2 separate regions of the Homo sapiens genome follow, and region 2 is linked to region 1. Evidence: promoter capture Hi-C in human tissues and cell types (Jung and others, 2019). All regions are on one chromosome and are shown on one strand. The core of a region is centred on a gene start or on the middle of the fragment in contact, and the rest is flanking DNA. Distances in the headings are between cores, read along the strand shown. Region 1 holds the start of KDELR1 (KDEL endoplasmic reticulum protein retention receptor 1). Region 2 overlaps TMEM143 (transmembrane protein 143).

Evidence for each region. The method cuts DNA at HindIII sites, captures the fragments that hold promoters and counts their contacts. A contact is called where the count stands out against the background at its distance.
Region 2: a contact is called between a fragment that was not itself captured here and the fragment with the promoter of KDELR1 in region 1, in 1 of the 25 tissues and cell types used here (hippocampus).

What each region holds. Positions count from the first base shown.
Region 1 is chr19:48,388,437-48,395,454 of GRCh38, forward strand. KDELR1 (KDEL endoplasmic reticulum protein retention receptor 1) reads right to left here and starts at 3,115. Exons shown (of 5, transcript NM_006801.3): 1 at 2,832-3,115; 2 at 1,988-2,088; 3 at 1,117-1,275. The coding sequence starts at 2,922. It overlaps GRIN2D (glutamate ionotropic receptor NMDA type subunit 2D), which reads left to right and starts at 5,232. Exons shown (of 14, transcript NM_000836.4): 1 at 5,232-5,432; 2 at 6,222-6,500. RefSeq lists an enhancer at 1,942-2,081 and a silencer at 2,952-3,271. The HindIII fragment of the contact is 17,535 bases long and covers 1-7,018 here.
Region 2 is chr19:48,329,461-48,336,541 of GRCh38, forward strand. It overlaps TMEM143 (transmembrane protein 143), which reads right to left. Exons shown (of 8, transcript NM_018273.4): 7 at 4,548-4,737; 8 at 2,896-3,973. The coding sequence ends at 3,759. EMP3 (epithelial membrane protein 3 (MAM blood group)) reads left to right here. Exons shown (of 5, transcript NM_001425.3): 4 at 1-32; 5 at 841-1,093. The coding sequence ends at 1,010. Among named protein-coding and RNA genes, the nearest start is that of EMP3, 7.4 kb to the left of the region's middle. RefSeq lists enhancers at 1-91, 3,798-4,533, 3,924-4,013, 4,024-4,073 and a silencer at 4,414-4,933. The HindIII fragment of the contact is 4,580 bases long and covers 998-5,577 here.

The DNA.
Region 1 (7,018 bases), core at 1,865-4,364:
GCACTTTGGGAGGCTGAGGAGAGTGGATCACCTGAGGTCAGGAATTCGAGACCAGCCTGGCCAATATGTTGAAACCCTGTCTCTACTAAAAATACAAAAAATAACCTGGCTTGGTGGTGGGCATCTGCAATCTCAGCTACTCGGGAGGCTGAGGCAGGAGAATCGCTTGAACCTGGGAGGTGGAGGTTGCAGTGAGCCAGAATCATGCCACTGCCTCCAGTCTGGGCAACCGAGCGAGACTTTGTCGAAAGAGAAAGGAAAAAAGAAAGAAAGGAAGAAAAGGAAGAAAAGGAAGAAAGGAAGAAAGGAAGGAAAGAAGAAAGAAAGGAAAGAAAGGAAGAAAGAAAGAAAGGAAAGAAAGAGAAAGAAAGGAAGGAAGGAAGGAGGAAAGGAAGAAAGGAAGGAGGAAAGGAAGAAGGAAAGGAAGAAAGAAAGGAAGGAAGGAAGAAAGAAAGGAAGGAAGAAAGGAAGAAAGGAAAGAAAGAAAGAAAGAAGGAAAGAAAGAAAGAAAAAAGAAACTAGCAGATTTGGAATTCAAATTCAAGAAGGCTGGGCCAGGAATGGTGGCTCACGCCTGTAATCCCAGCACTTTGGGAGGCCAAGACAGGCAGATTATTTGAGCCCAGGAGTTCAAGACCAGCCTGGTCAACATGTGAAACCCTGTCTGGACTAAAAATACAAAAATTAGCAGAGCATGGTGATGTGCACCTGTCTTCCCAACTACTCGGGAGGCTGAGGTAGGATAATTGCTTGAACCTGGGAGGCGGGGGTTGCAGTGAGCCGAGATCATGCCACTGCACTCCAGTCTGGGCAACAGAGCGAGACTTTGTCTCCAGAAAAAAAAGAATCCCTAAGCCTCAGTTTCCTCATCTGTAAAGTGGGGCTGCTGAGAAAAGTAAGTAGGTGAAATGCTTAGGGTAGTGACTGACACATAGCGAGTCTTGCTGCTGTTGTGTTAATTTCCTCTGACCCCAGAGCCCATGCACTGAACTTATGCATCCTAAAATAAGGCAGTTTGGGCACACCCTGCAGAAGGAAGCCTGTGAGAGGGTCTCCTGTCATAGCTACTCTGCCACAACCATCCCCCCAAATAAGGAGTCACAGCAAGGCGCCTACCTCCAGAGGGGTGAAGTCATGATTGACCAGGAACGCCAGAATGGCTGTGGGAACGACCAGGAACTCCACTCTGAACGTGTCATGGTTCCCATCGTAAGTAGCTTTGAACTTGCTATAAATCAACCAGACCGTGGTGAAGGAGCAGGCTATGTAGACCACCTGAGGAGGGGGATGATGAGAAGGGGCCTCAACTCACAGGCCTGTGCCCCAGTAGGCTCAGAGCCCGGAGTCCAGGCCCCTCCCTCAGACGCAGGAGTCCAGACCCCCAACCCCTCCTCCCTCAGACCCAGGAGTCCAAGCCCCCAGCCCCTCCTCCCTCAGACCCAGGAGTCCAGGCCCCCAACCCCTCCTCCCTCAGATCCAGGAGTCCAAGCCCCCAGCCCCTCCTCCCTCAGACCCAGGAGTCCAGGCCCCCAACCCCTCCTCCCTCAGACCCTGGAGTCCAGGCCCCCAGCCCCTCCTCCCTCAGACCCAGGAGTCCAGGGCCCCATTCCCTCCTCCCTCAGATCCAGGAGTCCAGGCCCAGCCCCTCCTCCCTCAGACCCAAGAGTCCAGGCCCAGCCCCTCCTCCCTCAGACCCAGGAGTCCAGGCCCCAGTCCCTTCCTCCCTCAGACCCAAAAGTCCAGGCCCCCGGCCCCTCCTCCCTCAGACCCAGGAGTCCAGACCCCCAACCCCTCCTCCCTCAGACCCAGGAGTCCAGGCCTCAGTCCCTTCTTCCCTCAGACCCAAGAGTCCAGGCCCCCGGCCCCTCCTCCCTCAGACCCAGGAGTCCAGGCCCCCAGCCCCTCCTCCCTCAGACCTAGGAGTCTGGGACCCACACCCGGCTCCTCTGCCTCAGTGGGGGCCAGAGAGGTGGGGTGGAGCCTCTACCTTCATACACGTGTTGTAGAGTGAGATGTAGTTGGTGAAGAGGTCCAGATATCGGGCAGTGAACACCACAGCAAACAGGACCTGGCTCTTCCCTGAAATTCCTGTGGTCCAGAGACAGAGAAAGAGAGAGAGAGAGAGACAGAGAGAGAGAGAGAGACAGACAGACAGACAGACAGACAGAAGGAGAGAGGAAGCTGGGGGTGGGCTGCATGGGCAATAAACTAAGGCAGGGCGCCCGGGACCAGCCTGGAGGCAGCTCTGGAGTGCAGCTGTCCCCGGAGGCCTCCCCAGCCCGCCCCGCCTGAGCAGGGCCCTTTCCCACGGACCACAGCCAGGGGGCAGCCCAGGCCCCCGAAGCTACTCCAGCCCGAGGCTCCGTCCCAGACTAGGCCTCATGGCTACCCCTGGCCCCTCAGGGTCCTCCCGCAGTCTGGACCTGAGGTGAGGCCTAGGGAGGACCTTCCCTGACCTCAGGCCCCGGATCCGGTCACCTCCCTCCCGTTCCCTTCCTGGCCGCCACGGTCCACGTCACCAACTCACAGCCACCTCCCCGCCTGCCATGGTTCCCTGTTCCCGGTCCATGAACCCTCGGGCTGCCCAGATTGGGGCTGGGGGTGGCTGAATTGGGGGCCTAAAGCCATTCACATGAAACTGTATGCACCCCCGCCAGTCTGGGGAAGGGAGCTGATCCCCTGGAGACCCAGAACCTAGAAGAGAGATCCCCAGCAAGCAGTGGGGGTGGAACCTGTGCCCCTAGTGCCCCCAAACCCTTCCTGAGTCCTGCGACGTCCCCCAACCCCCGCCCGCAATCTCTCTCCTTCGCCAGCCCTGGTGGGCCTCTCACCGGCGCACGAGCGGGACTTCCAGATTTTGAGCAGTAGCAAGATGATGGCGAGGAGGTGGGAGAGGTCTCCCAGGAATCGGAAGAGATTCATGGCTGGGGAACCCTGGCAGGGCTGAGCGGGAGGGAGGCAGGCTGGCGGGGGGGTGCCCCCCGAGGCTGCTGGTCTGAACGGGTAGCTGGGCTGGGGGGACGGAAGAGGGACCCTAGGTGCGCTCCGCTCCGGGGAGGGGACTTTGGGAGGGGGAGCAAAGGCTGGAGCTGGCGGCGGAGCTGGAGCCGGGAAGAGGGAGGAGAGCGAGAGGGGGAGGAGTCCGGGAGGAGAGGCTCCGCCCCCGAGGGCGGGGCCTGGATCCCCGGCGCCCCCTATCGCCCACCTCCTGCTTTGCCGTGGCGGCGCTAAACGCACCCCCAAAGCTGCCCCATAGGAACTTGGGAGGGTCGCAGGGTTCGGAAAGTGCCAAATCCAGCACCGGTTCGCCCAGGCAGTCTGTGTCTCTGGAAGAGACGCAGTCCAGTACACCAGCCTCAGCCCTTGCAGGGATGTAGAGACTGCCCTCTGAGCTTGAAAAATCCTGCAGGGACCCGGAGGCTCAGCTGCTAGCTTTTGCAGCTTTCAGGCACTCTAACTCCAATCCCCCAGAAGACAAGAAAGATACCCCACCTACTTCCTCCCCTAGACCCAGGACTCAAGGCCCCAGCCCGTTCGTCAAACCCAGAAGTCTGGGTCCCCAGCCCCTCCTCCCTCAGACCCAGGAGTCCAGACCCCCAGCCTCTCCTCCCTCAGACCCAGAAGTCCAGACCCCCAGCCCCTCCTCCCTCAGATCCAGGAGTCCAGGCCCAGCTCCTCCTCGCTCAGACCCAGGAGTCCAGGCCCCCAGCCTCCTCCCTCAGACCCAGGAGTCCAGGCCCCCAGCCTCCTCCCTCAGACCCAGGACTCCAGGCCCCCAGACCCTCCTCCCCCAGATCCAGGAGTCCAGGCCCCCAGCCCTTCCTCCCTCAGACCCAGGAGTCCAGACCCCCAGCACCTCCTCCCTCAGACCCAGGAGTCCAGATCCCCAGCCCCTCCTCCCTCAGACCCAGGGGTCCAGGGCCCCAGCCCCTCCTCCCTCAGACCCAGGGGTCCAGGGCCCCAGCCCCTCCTCCCTCAGACCCAGGGGTCCAGGGCCCCAGCCCCTCCTCCCTCAGACCCAGGAGTTCAGGGCCCCAGCCCTTTTCCCTCCTAGGACGCTGTTCCTTGGAACTTAGGGTCCCACCCCCACCATCTTATGGATCAAACATCCTAACCTTAAGAATCTAGATCTACAGTTTCTCCCTTTACGACCCACAGATTTAGGCCCTGATTCTCTTCTTTTTCAGGAATGTGCACCTCACCCTGTTCTCCCAGACCTTGAGGATGAAGGAAACAGGAGCCTCACCCAGGAGGCTCAAGGCCAAAACTCTGACCCAAACTACCTCAGGAGCCCCTGGCCCTGGCTTCCCCCCTGCTCCAGAGTTTCTGCCCTGCCCACACACACACACCCTCTTCCACCCTCAGAGGCCCCGGTGTCCTGCCCCACGCTCTACCCCAGAGCCCCACGGGTGGCTTTATAAAAGTGCCGGGCCCAGCCCTCTAGCAGGAGGGGAATGCTGGGCATCTGGGTGTGGGACCCCCGGGGAACAGCCTGTGGTCTGGACTCCTGCATCTATGAGGGGACAGACGTGGCTTCCCTTCCGGATGATGGGGTACCCACAGATGATGGAGGCCAGGGTCCCTCAATAAAAGAAGGGGTGCAGGCGTGTTGATTTCTTCAGAGGGCTGGAAGGACGGGGTGCCCAAGGGTGACATCCACGAGTCTTGGGTCCCTGAGGGTGGCTTGTACGGGGGAGAGTCGGGATGACTGAGTCCTTAAAAGAGACTCCGACTTGGAGGCGGTCCCCAAATTCCTGGGTCCCAGTAGAGAAGGGGACTCCTGGGTCTGAGGGAGGAGGGGCTGGGGGGTGGGACTCCTGGGACCAGGGTCGAGACCTGGTTTTCAGGCCTGGCCTTCTGGGGCAATAAAAGCCACAGCTTGGGTCTTAGTGTGGCGAACACTGAAGTCAGGGAAAGGCCTCCTGTTTCCAGAGCCTCAAGGCAGGGCGGGGGCAGAGGGCAGCAACCCCCAGCCCTGGAGTCTAGCTCTGAAGCTGGTGTCTCCATACCGGGTTCTGAGTCCCTGCCTGCCTGTCCCCAGCCTGACTTCTTCCTCCCTTTTTATTTTCAGCCCCTCACTCCCTTGTCCCAGGAGGAAGGCAGAGGCTGGTAGCTAGGGGTGGGGGGCGGCCCCCTCCCCAAGCCTGGCAGGAGAAGGGGTCCCCAGGGAGGCCAGGAGGGGGGGCTGTGGGTCTCCCGGCAGTGGCAGACGGGGACTGAATGTTAATCGCATCCCGAGTGAGTGTGTGTGTGCGAGAACACAGCGAGTGTGTGAGTCCCTCCCGCTCCAGCTCCTCCAAGCCGCGGCCGCCGCCGCCACCCTCGCCCGCAGCCTCCCGCAGCCTCCCTCGGCCACCGGTGCCTGCTGGGGGTGTTGCCTGGGTAGGTCGGCCCGGCCCCCAGGGGTCTCTCGAGCGTCTGCCATCTGCCCGGTGAGGATCTGTGTGTCCGGGTGTCTGGGGCTGGCTGGTGGAGGGGGGGTGTGTCTGTAAGCGCTGCGGCGGCGGAGGGAGGGAGGGGTCTGTCTGTCTGTACCGACCCTGAGCTGCCTGCCTGGGTGTCGTGGGGCTCCCGCTCCTTCCCCCCGGCCCCCCCAAACCCAGATGGATGGTGTGTACCTGGGTTCTGTGCCTCCTGCCTGCGTCCGGCCAGGCGTCTGGGCGTCCCCGGCTGCCTGTGTCCTCCTGTCTGTCCAAACAGCCCCTATCAGCAGTGGCAGCCTGGCCCCCATTAGACCCCCCACTCTGTGTGTGTGTGTCTGTGTGTGTGTCCCTCCTCAAGCTCTGGGGGTGTTGAGGGGGAATCCCAGGGAAGTGAGATCGTGCGTGTGTGCGTGAGTGTATGTGTGTTTCTGCCTGTGTTTGAGAGTGGGGGAGTCAAGGGGGGGTCTAGAGGTGGCCAAGCGAGGAAGGGGCAAGCAGTTCCCCAAGCAGGCAATCTCCCGCTCCTCACACGCACACACCAGCCACTAGCTTCAGAGGTGACCCAGACAGACAGATAGACACAGACGCTGGAAGGGGGGGTGGGGGGGCTGAGGGCACAAAGCGGGGGTGCGAGTGAGCCAGGGAGAGGCGGGACTGGACACATGGAAAGGGGGGAGGAGCCGGGGCTGAAGCGGCAGAGGGGGGCACCCCGGGTGGGCGGAGGGGGGATCCCCACGGGGTCGGGGCGGCAAGAGGACACCCCGACAGCCTCTGCAATGTCCGGGGCCCAACTTCCAGAGCAACATGTGTAGCCACGTCCTCGCCTAGTCCAGGTGGCCGCAACCTTGGGGGAGAGACAGGGCAGGACAGGACCAAGGAAGAGGAAGGAGAGACGGAGCCAGGGACAGACAGGAGGTCCGGGCTGCCGCTGCTGCCGCCACCACCACTGCCGCCGCCCCGGGGCCTGCCCCCCGACATCGGCTCTCTGAGCCCTCCTCGGAATCTTGGGGTCGCTGGACGCCGGGTTCCGGTCCTGGCCCCCCCGCCATCCCCCCAACAGAACAGGGTCATGAAAAGGTAAGGCGGGGACAGGGGATGCAGGGATGGTGGTGGGAATGTGGACCCCCAAATCTAGGACAGAGGAAGTTGGCAAGAAGCCTCGTGGAGGGAGGGGGTTTGAACGGTGGGCAGGGGTCTTGACCCCCACCTAGCTCCCCTGTCCCTCAGGGACTCTCCTCCACCCTCTCTCTCTCCCTCTCTGAGCCCCTTTTTCCTGAGTCCCTACACCTCAGACCTTTCACGCCCCCATTTCTCTGACACTTGGCTCCCTCTCCCCATCCCCACATACCTGATGCCCCATATCCCTGTGCCTCCATCTCTCTATCTCACCTTCTCCCTGTACCCCCCTCCCTGCATCAGTCCCCCCATCGCGAGCCGGTCCTCTCCCTCTCTCCTCTCGCTCTCCCCTCCCATGTCAGAGCTATGAGTCTGCTATTAATACCCCCGCCAAGGACCTTGAGGGCATCCAGGCCCCCAGCACCCCTCGCCCCAAGCTCCCACCCCTTCCTCAAGGTTCTGGAACACCCTTCCAGCCT
Region 2 (7,081 bases), core at 2,038-4,537, 59 kb before region 1:
CTATGCCACCGGCCTCTGCCAGCTTTGCACCAGTGAGCACTGCCCCTCCCCAACCCTAATCCCCCAAGAATTGAGCAGAAGGGAGTGGGGTGTGTCAAGATGCTGGGGGCCCTGAGAATGGGCCTCTCGTAGAAAAAAACAACTTTCAACACCCCACGAGCCACAAGAGGTGCCTCCGTGGGCTACATCTCTGCCCCCAGGGATTGCTGGGACTTGTAGTTTTCAGTGGCTAATGATAGTTATGGCTTGTGCGTATGAGTCATCAGGGAACTCAGAGTTTCAGGGAGCCGGGGCTGGGGAAGGAGGTATAGGTAAATAGTTTTGGTCCCAGGGATCGGCCGTGACGTGGGGGGATAAACTAATTAGTACCTCAGTAGAGAGCTCTAAATCATAATAATAATGGTATTTATATCAGCCAACCGCTGTTTCTTGCGTGCCTATTGTGCATCAGATACTTCAAGAAGTTTTGCGTACTTTTTAATTTTTTGACTTAAGGTGCAAAGGGCTAACTTAATCACAGTCAGTTTGGGGAACATTATAGGTTCTTGCAAAGCTTCTCTCTTGGTTTATGAATTTACTACTGCATGTTTGGCTTATAGAAACACACTCAAAAATATTCCTTGGATGGATAGAGAGATATTATTGGACCTAGAGAGATTAAATCAGTTACCTAAGGCCGCGCTACAGTTGCACGGCGCTGGGCGGGGGGGAAAGAACCACAACTCCCAGCAGGCAGCGGCGCTGCCCACGGGCCCTCCGGCGCTTCTTTGCCCCCATGGGATATTGGGAAATGTAGTCTTGAGGGGGCACTGCATGACGTGTGGTTTTCATCTTCCGCAGGCGTGGCGGTGTTTACTGGCGCCTTGATCTATGCCATTCACGCCGAGGAGATCCTGGAGAAGCACCCGCGAGGGGGCAGCTTCGGATACTGCTTCGCCCTGGCCTGGGTGGCCTTCCCCCTCGCCCTGGTCAGCGGCATCATCTACATCCACCTACGGAAGCGGGAGTGAGCGCCCCGCCTCGCTCGGCTGCCCCCGCCCCTTCCCGGCCCCCCTCGCCGCGCGTCCTCCAAAAAATAAAACCTTAACCGCGGGCTCTGCCTTGATCTTCCTTCCTTCCGCCTCCAGGGACCCAGGCTGCGCACGCTTGACCTCTCCTGAACCTAACATGGTCCCCACCGCCAGCTGCTCAGCCCTCAGAATGCCCATCTCCCAGCCCCCAACCCCTTCCTCCCGAGGACACAGGAGCCGGGACCCCAGGCACCTTTTCCCTCCCACAGACCCAAGAGCCTGGGCCTTCCCCGCTCAAGGCCCAAGAGACCTCTGTGAGGCACCTGAATCTAGACCTTCAGACACTTCTGGGAAGAACCTGGATTCTGGGTCCCAGCAGACCCTGTTAGGATAGGAAGCCTGCAGTGACCAGTCCTGTCTCCTTGCTCAAGCTTCTGTCACTCTGTTGCTCTCTCTCTCTGAACCCCGGGCATAGTGTGTGTTTCTAGATTGTCGGACTCTTTTTTTCTTTCTGTCCAGGTTGGAGTGCAGTGGTACGATCTCAGCTCACTGCAACCTCCGCCTCCCGGGTTGAAGCGATTCTCCTGCCTCAGCCTCCCGAGTAGCTGGGACTACAGGCACGAGCCACCACACCCGGCTAGTTCTGGACTCTTTTTTCTTTCTACTAACTTTCCATTTGGGAAGACAGCTTTCTTTTTCCCTCTAGGAAACCAGTCTCCCTCTCTCTCTTTTTTTTTTTTTTTTTTTTTTTTGAGACGGAGTCTCGCTCTGTCACCTAGGCTGTAGTGCAGTGGTGCGATCTTCACTCACTGCAACCTCCGCCTCCCGGGTTCAAGCAATTCTCCTGCCTCAGCCTCCTGAGCAGCTGGGATTACAGGCGCCCACCACCACGTCCGGCTAATTTTTGTATCTTTAGTAGACACGGGGTTTCACCATGTTGGCCAGGCTGGTCTTGAACTCCTGACCTCAGGTGATCCACCCACCTCAGCCTCCCAAAGTGCTGGGATTACAGGCGGGAGCCACCGCGCCCAGCCCAGTCTCCCTCTCTAGGGACTGAACATTTGGGGTCCTAGAGAGGGAGACTTCCCCTGTCTCCCCAAAGGCTGCCTCTAGCCCATATGACACGTTAGCAAAAATTAGGAGGCACCCCTTCTTCTGGCTGACCCAGCCCCACACCAGGATACATGTAGGGGTATGGGCTGGGTCTTACAGCCACCCACCCGTGGCTGTGTTCCTTTGTGCAGTTAACAATCTGCACAGGCCGGGTGCGGTGGCTCACGCCTGTAATCCCAGTACTTTGGGAGGCTGAGGCAGGTGGATCACCTGAGGTCAGGAGTTCGAGACCAGCCTGGCCAACATGGTGAAACCCCGTCTCTACTGAAAATACAAAAAATTAGCCAGGCGCGGTGGCAGGCGCCTCCCAGCTACTCGGGAGGCTGAGGCAGGAGAATCACTTGAACCCAGGAGGCGGAGGTTGCAGTGAGCCAAGATCATGCCATTGCATTCCAGCCTGGGCAACAAGCGCGAAACTCCATCTCAAGAACAAAAAAAAATCTGCAAATCTGCACAATCGCACATGGCTACGCTATCTCCTCTGTTCATCAGGCCCTGGGACTCCTCTGGAATCAGATCCTTCTAAGATCCTCTTCTATGACTGTCTTTGTTTCACCGACCATGAACCCAGCCTCTTTTTAGGACTACAGCTTTCTCTGTCTGGGACCCCAAGACCTAGCTAGAGTCCCTCCCCTCTTTCCAGGATTCAAATGCTTTCCTTCCCTCCAACTCCTGCAGCCATCCCACTCATCTAGATTTTTAAAAATAATTTTTTAACCACTCCTACAGAGCAGGGTTACCCTAAAGGCAGTGCGTTAAGAGTAGCCTCATCCAGACTTATTAAACATGATTTATTACTTTGGGACAGGAGACGGGAGAAATTGATAGACCAATAAATATTGCACAGGCTGCTGGTGGTGGGGAGATCCAGACCGAGGTAGTTTCTGTAGAAAGGGTGAAAGACCTGGGCGAGGAAGGCACCTGAGGTTGCCGGGAGCCAGGTTGGGAGCGAGTCTTGGTGGCGAGGGTGGTTTCTGGTTCACCTACCTAGCACAAGGTCTCCAACTCCTTCAGCCTAGACACCCTGATCAGCAGCTGACCAGTTGGCCTGCCATTTAAGCAGCAGCAATTGATAGCAAGATCAGGTTTCCTTTAGAAATTCTTATTGGTTCCTTCCCTGCAGCGACAACCGGCTGCCCAAAGTTGATGGAACCCAGCAGCTGTCACTGGACGTTTGCCAGGAGGCAGGGCTAACGGCCTTGGTGCACATGATGGGCAGTTTGCCCGGAGCGGGCTGAAAAAGACAATGATATATAGTCTCGGGAGGGCGCAGCTTTAACTCTTCTACCTGGCGGTTTACAGAAGCCAGAGCTGAGCAGCTGTGATTGGCAGACACCCTCAGCTCCTCAGCCAAACCACACTTGGATGTTTATGGTGAGGGTGGGACTAAGAAATGGAACAGAAGCAGAGCTAAATCGCTTTGATTGGCTGTTCATCGAAGGGGCGGGGAAGACTTAACAACTGCTAGCTGCTTTGATTGGCTGCTTTGCTTAAGCACACAGTGCAGCAAAAATAATCACCTGTCAGTTATTGGAAGTTGGAGTGAAAAGTATAATAACCGTAATTGACAGCCTGTCGTGAAGGAGGCGGGGCTTAGTTCCTAGCCTGCTGACTGGGCAGGGAGGTAGGTTCTACTCAGGAGATGTTACTGCTGGGCGTGGCTTGCGGGGGCTCGGAAGTGATCGGAGCCACTGGGTCTAGTTTGGGGAAACCCGGGGGTGGGTACAATCCCATGCTGGGGGTCAGGGCCTGCAGATGCGCCAGGGCCCGAGTTCCGTTGAAGGTCACCTCACAGCCTGACTTGGCTAGGAGCCAGTTCTCCACCTCCGACCGGAGCCACCTGGAGGTCTCTGCAAGGGGAGAGGCAGGTGTTCTGAGGTCACACTGAGATCGGGGAAGATTCGAGGGAGCAGCAAGGAGGGGCGTAGGGCAAAGAACAGGAAGGGCCTGGGTTTGGGAGAAGCCTAGGAGTGATCTTGAGGCTTGGAGGGGAGCGGAACAAGGCCCAGGAGGGTCGAGAGGGCCAGAAGGCCCAGCTCTGGGGCTTTCGTCTGGGGACCAGTCAGGGGCTCTTGGGCAGGGAAGGTGGGGGCTCCTGTAGGCAAGGGGACCACCTGGAGCCCACACAGGGAGCGCGCAGGATCTCTTGTAGGGAGAGTGTCAGCTCAGGTAGAGGAAAGAATGACAGGAGGGGGCCGTGCCATGGAGCCAAGACTCCCAACCAGGCTGAGGTTAAGAAAGGGCTGTCACATCAGGCACCAAGATCGGAGTCTGGATTCGGAGGTCCTGTCTGCTGAGGGCCGGGGTCTCTTCGCAAACCCGTCAGGTTCACCCGTGGGAACTGGGGGTGGGGACGCATCTCGCTGGGGCGGGGCCTCGCGGGGGTGTGGCCCCTGGGGGCAGGGTCCCAGGGCCACGTCCTACCTTCGGGCGAGCCTTGAGTGCCCCCTGGCCGCCGGGCCAGGAAGCTGTGAGCCAGCAGCGCCTCCTTGGTGTGCTCGTCCTGCGCGCGCAGGGCCAGGGCGCTGAGCAGCTCCGAGTTGTTGGACGTACTGCGATAGTACAGCATGTGCGCCAGCTCCAACGCCTGCGCGCTGCGCCGCTGCCCGAACATCTGCAGGCGGGACAGCGCCCCGTGGGCTCAGTTCGGGGTGCGCCCCCACCCATACACAGCCCCCGGGGTCACCCCCGCTGGCACGGCCCACGCCGCTTACTCCCCTGAGGAGGCGGGGAGGTCCTACCCAGACCTCTTCAGTACGGGTCCCCAGAGCTCAGTCGAGGGATCTATTTGGGGATTTTTGGGGTCTGTCTTTTCTTTTTCTTTCTTTTTCTCTCTTTCTTTCTTTCTTTCTTTCTTTCTTTCTTTCTTTCTTTCTTTCTTTCTTTCTTTCTTTCTTTTTCTTTCTTTCTTTCGTTCTTTCTTTCTTTTCTTTCTTTCTCTTTCTTTCTTTTCTTTTCTTTCTTTCTTTTTCTTCCTTCCTTCCTTTCTTTCTTTTCTTTCCTTTTTTTTTTTTTTTCGACAGGGTCTCGCCCTGTAGCCCAGTCTGGAGTTCAGTGGCTATTCACAGGCAAACTCATAACGCACTGAAGCTTTGAACTCCCGGGCTCAAGCGATCCTCCCGCCTTGGCCTCCTAAGTAGCTGGGACTACAGGTGTGCGCCACCAAGCCCGATATTTTTTGTAGAGACGGGATTCTCCCTGTGTTGACCAGGCTGGTCTCAAACTCCCAGCCTGGAGTGATCCTCGCTCCTCAGCCTCCCATAGTGCTGGGGTTACAGGCGTGACCCAAGGCACCGGCTGGGGATCTGTATTTTTAACACACGTGCCCTCATTCCAGTGGCTCCAAGACCACCAGCCCCATCTGGCCTACAGTTTTCAGCAACCACTGCACTGGTTTGCTCATCTGAGCCATGTATTAATGGATTTACCCAAAGGTTTGCAGATGATAGGAGTTTTAGCTTTGAAAGATTTTGTTACAATACATCCTTATGTTTTAGAGACATAATAAAGTATTTCCAAATAAGTCTAGGTAGGATTTACTTCAAAATCATCCAATAGTAGGACAGTGGAGGTCTTCAGGGGAAATCTGATTAACTATTGCTAATTGTTGATGCTAGGTGCTGGCTAGTGGAGTTTATCATACTATCCTATTTCTGTGTTTGTTTGAACTTTTCTATAATGAAGGAAAAAATGGTTTAAAATATTAAACTGTAGGCCAAGTGCAGTGGCTCAGGCCTGTAATCCCAACGCTGAGAGGCCAAGGTGGGTGGATCACCTGAGCCCAGGAGTTCAAGACCAGCTTGGGCAACATGGCAAAAGCTTCATCTCTACAAAAAATTAAAATTAAAAAACAATAGCAGGCTGGGCTCAGTGGCTCACGCCTGTAATCCCAGCACTTTGGGAGGCCAAGGCAGGTGAATCACCTGAGGTTGGAAGTTCGAGACCAGCCTGACCAACATGGAGAAACCCGTCTCTACTAAAAATACAAAATTAGCCGGGCATGGTGGCTCATGCCTGTAATCCCAGCTACCCGGGAGGCTGAGGCAGGAGAATCGCTTGAACCTGGGAAGCAGAGGTTGCAGTGAGCCGAGATCATGCCATTGCACTCCAGCCTGGGCAACAAGAATGAAACTCTGCCTCAAAAAATAATAATAATAATAATTAGCTGGGTGTGATGGTGAGCACCTGTAGTCCCAGCTACTCATGAGGCTGAAGCAGGAGAATCACCTGAACCCAGGAGGCTGAGGCTACAGTGAGCCATGATCATACCACTGCACTCCAGGCTGGGCAACAGAGTGAGACCCTGTCTCAAAAAAAGAAAAAAGTTAAATTGTAAAGAGAAGAGGAGAGGGGAAGGATGTTGGGGGGAAGAACAGGTCTGGGCCCAGCTGTCTACTGGCTGCCCACTTCCCCACCGTTAGTCTCTTTGCTTGGACCCCTCTTCTCATCCTTGATATTGGTAAGGAGAAATGAGGGCATCAGTGCCCTCTGGGCTCCCACTGAAAAACTGTGCCCAGGCCAGATGCAGTGGCTGACACCTGTAATCCCTGCACTTTGGGAGGATGAGGAGGGCAGATCACTTGAGGTTAGGAGTTCGAGACCAACCTGGGCAACATGGTGAAACCCCATCTCTACTAAAAATACAAAAATTAGACCTGGCACGGTGGTTCATGCCTGTAATTCTAGCACTTTGGGAGGCCGAGACGGGCAGATCACTTGAGGTCAGGAGTTCGAAACCAGCCTGGCCAACATGGTGAAACCTTGTCTCTACTAAAAATACAAAAAAAAAAAATTAGTCAGGTATGGTGACAGGCACCTGTAATCCCAGCTACTTGGGAGGCTGAGGCAGGAGAGTCGCTTGAGCCCGGGAAGTGGAGGTTGCAGTGAGCCAGGATTGCGCCACTGCACTCCAGCCTGGGCAACAGAGTGGGACTCTGTCTCAAAAAAATAAATAAATA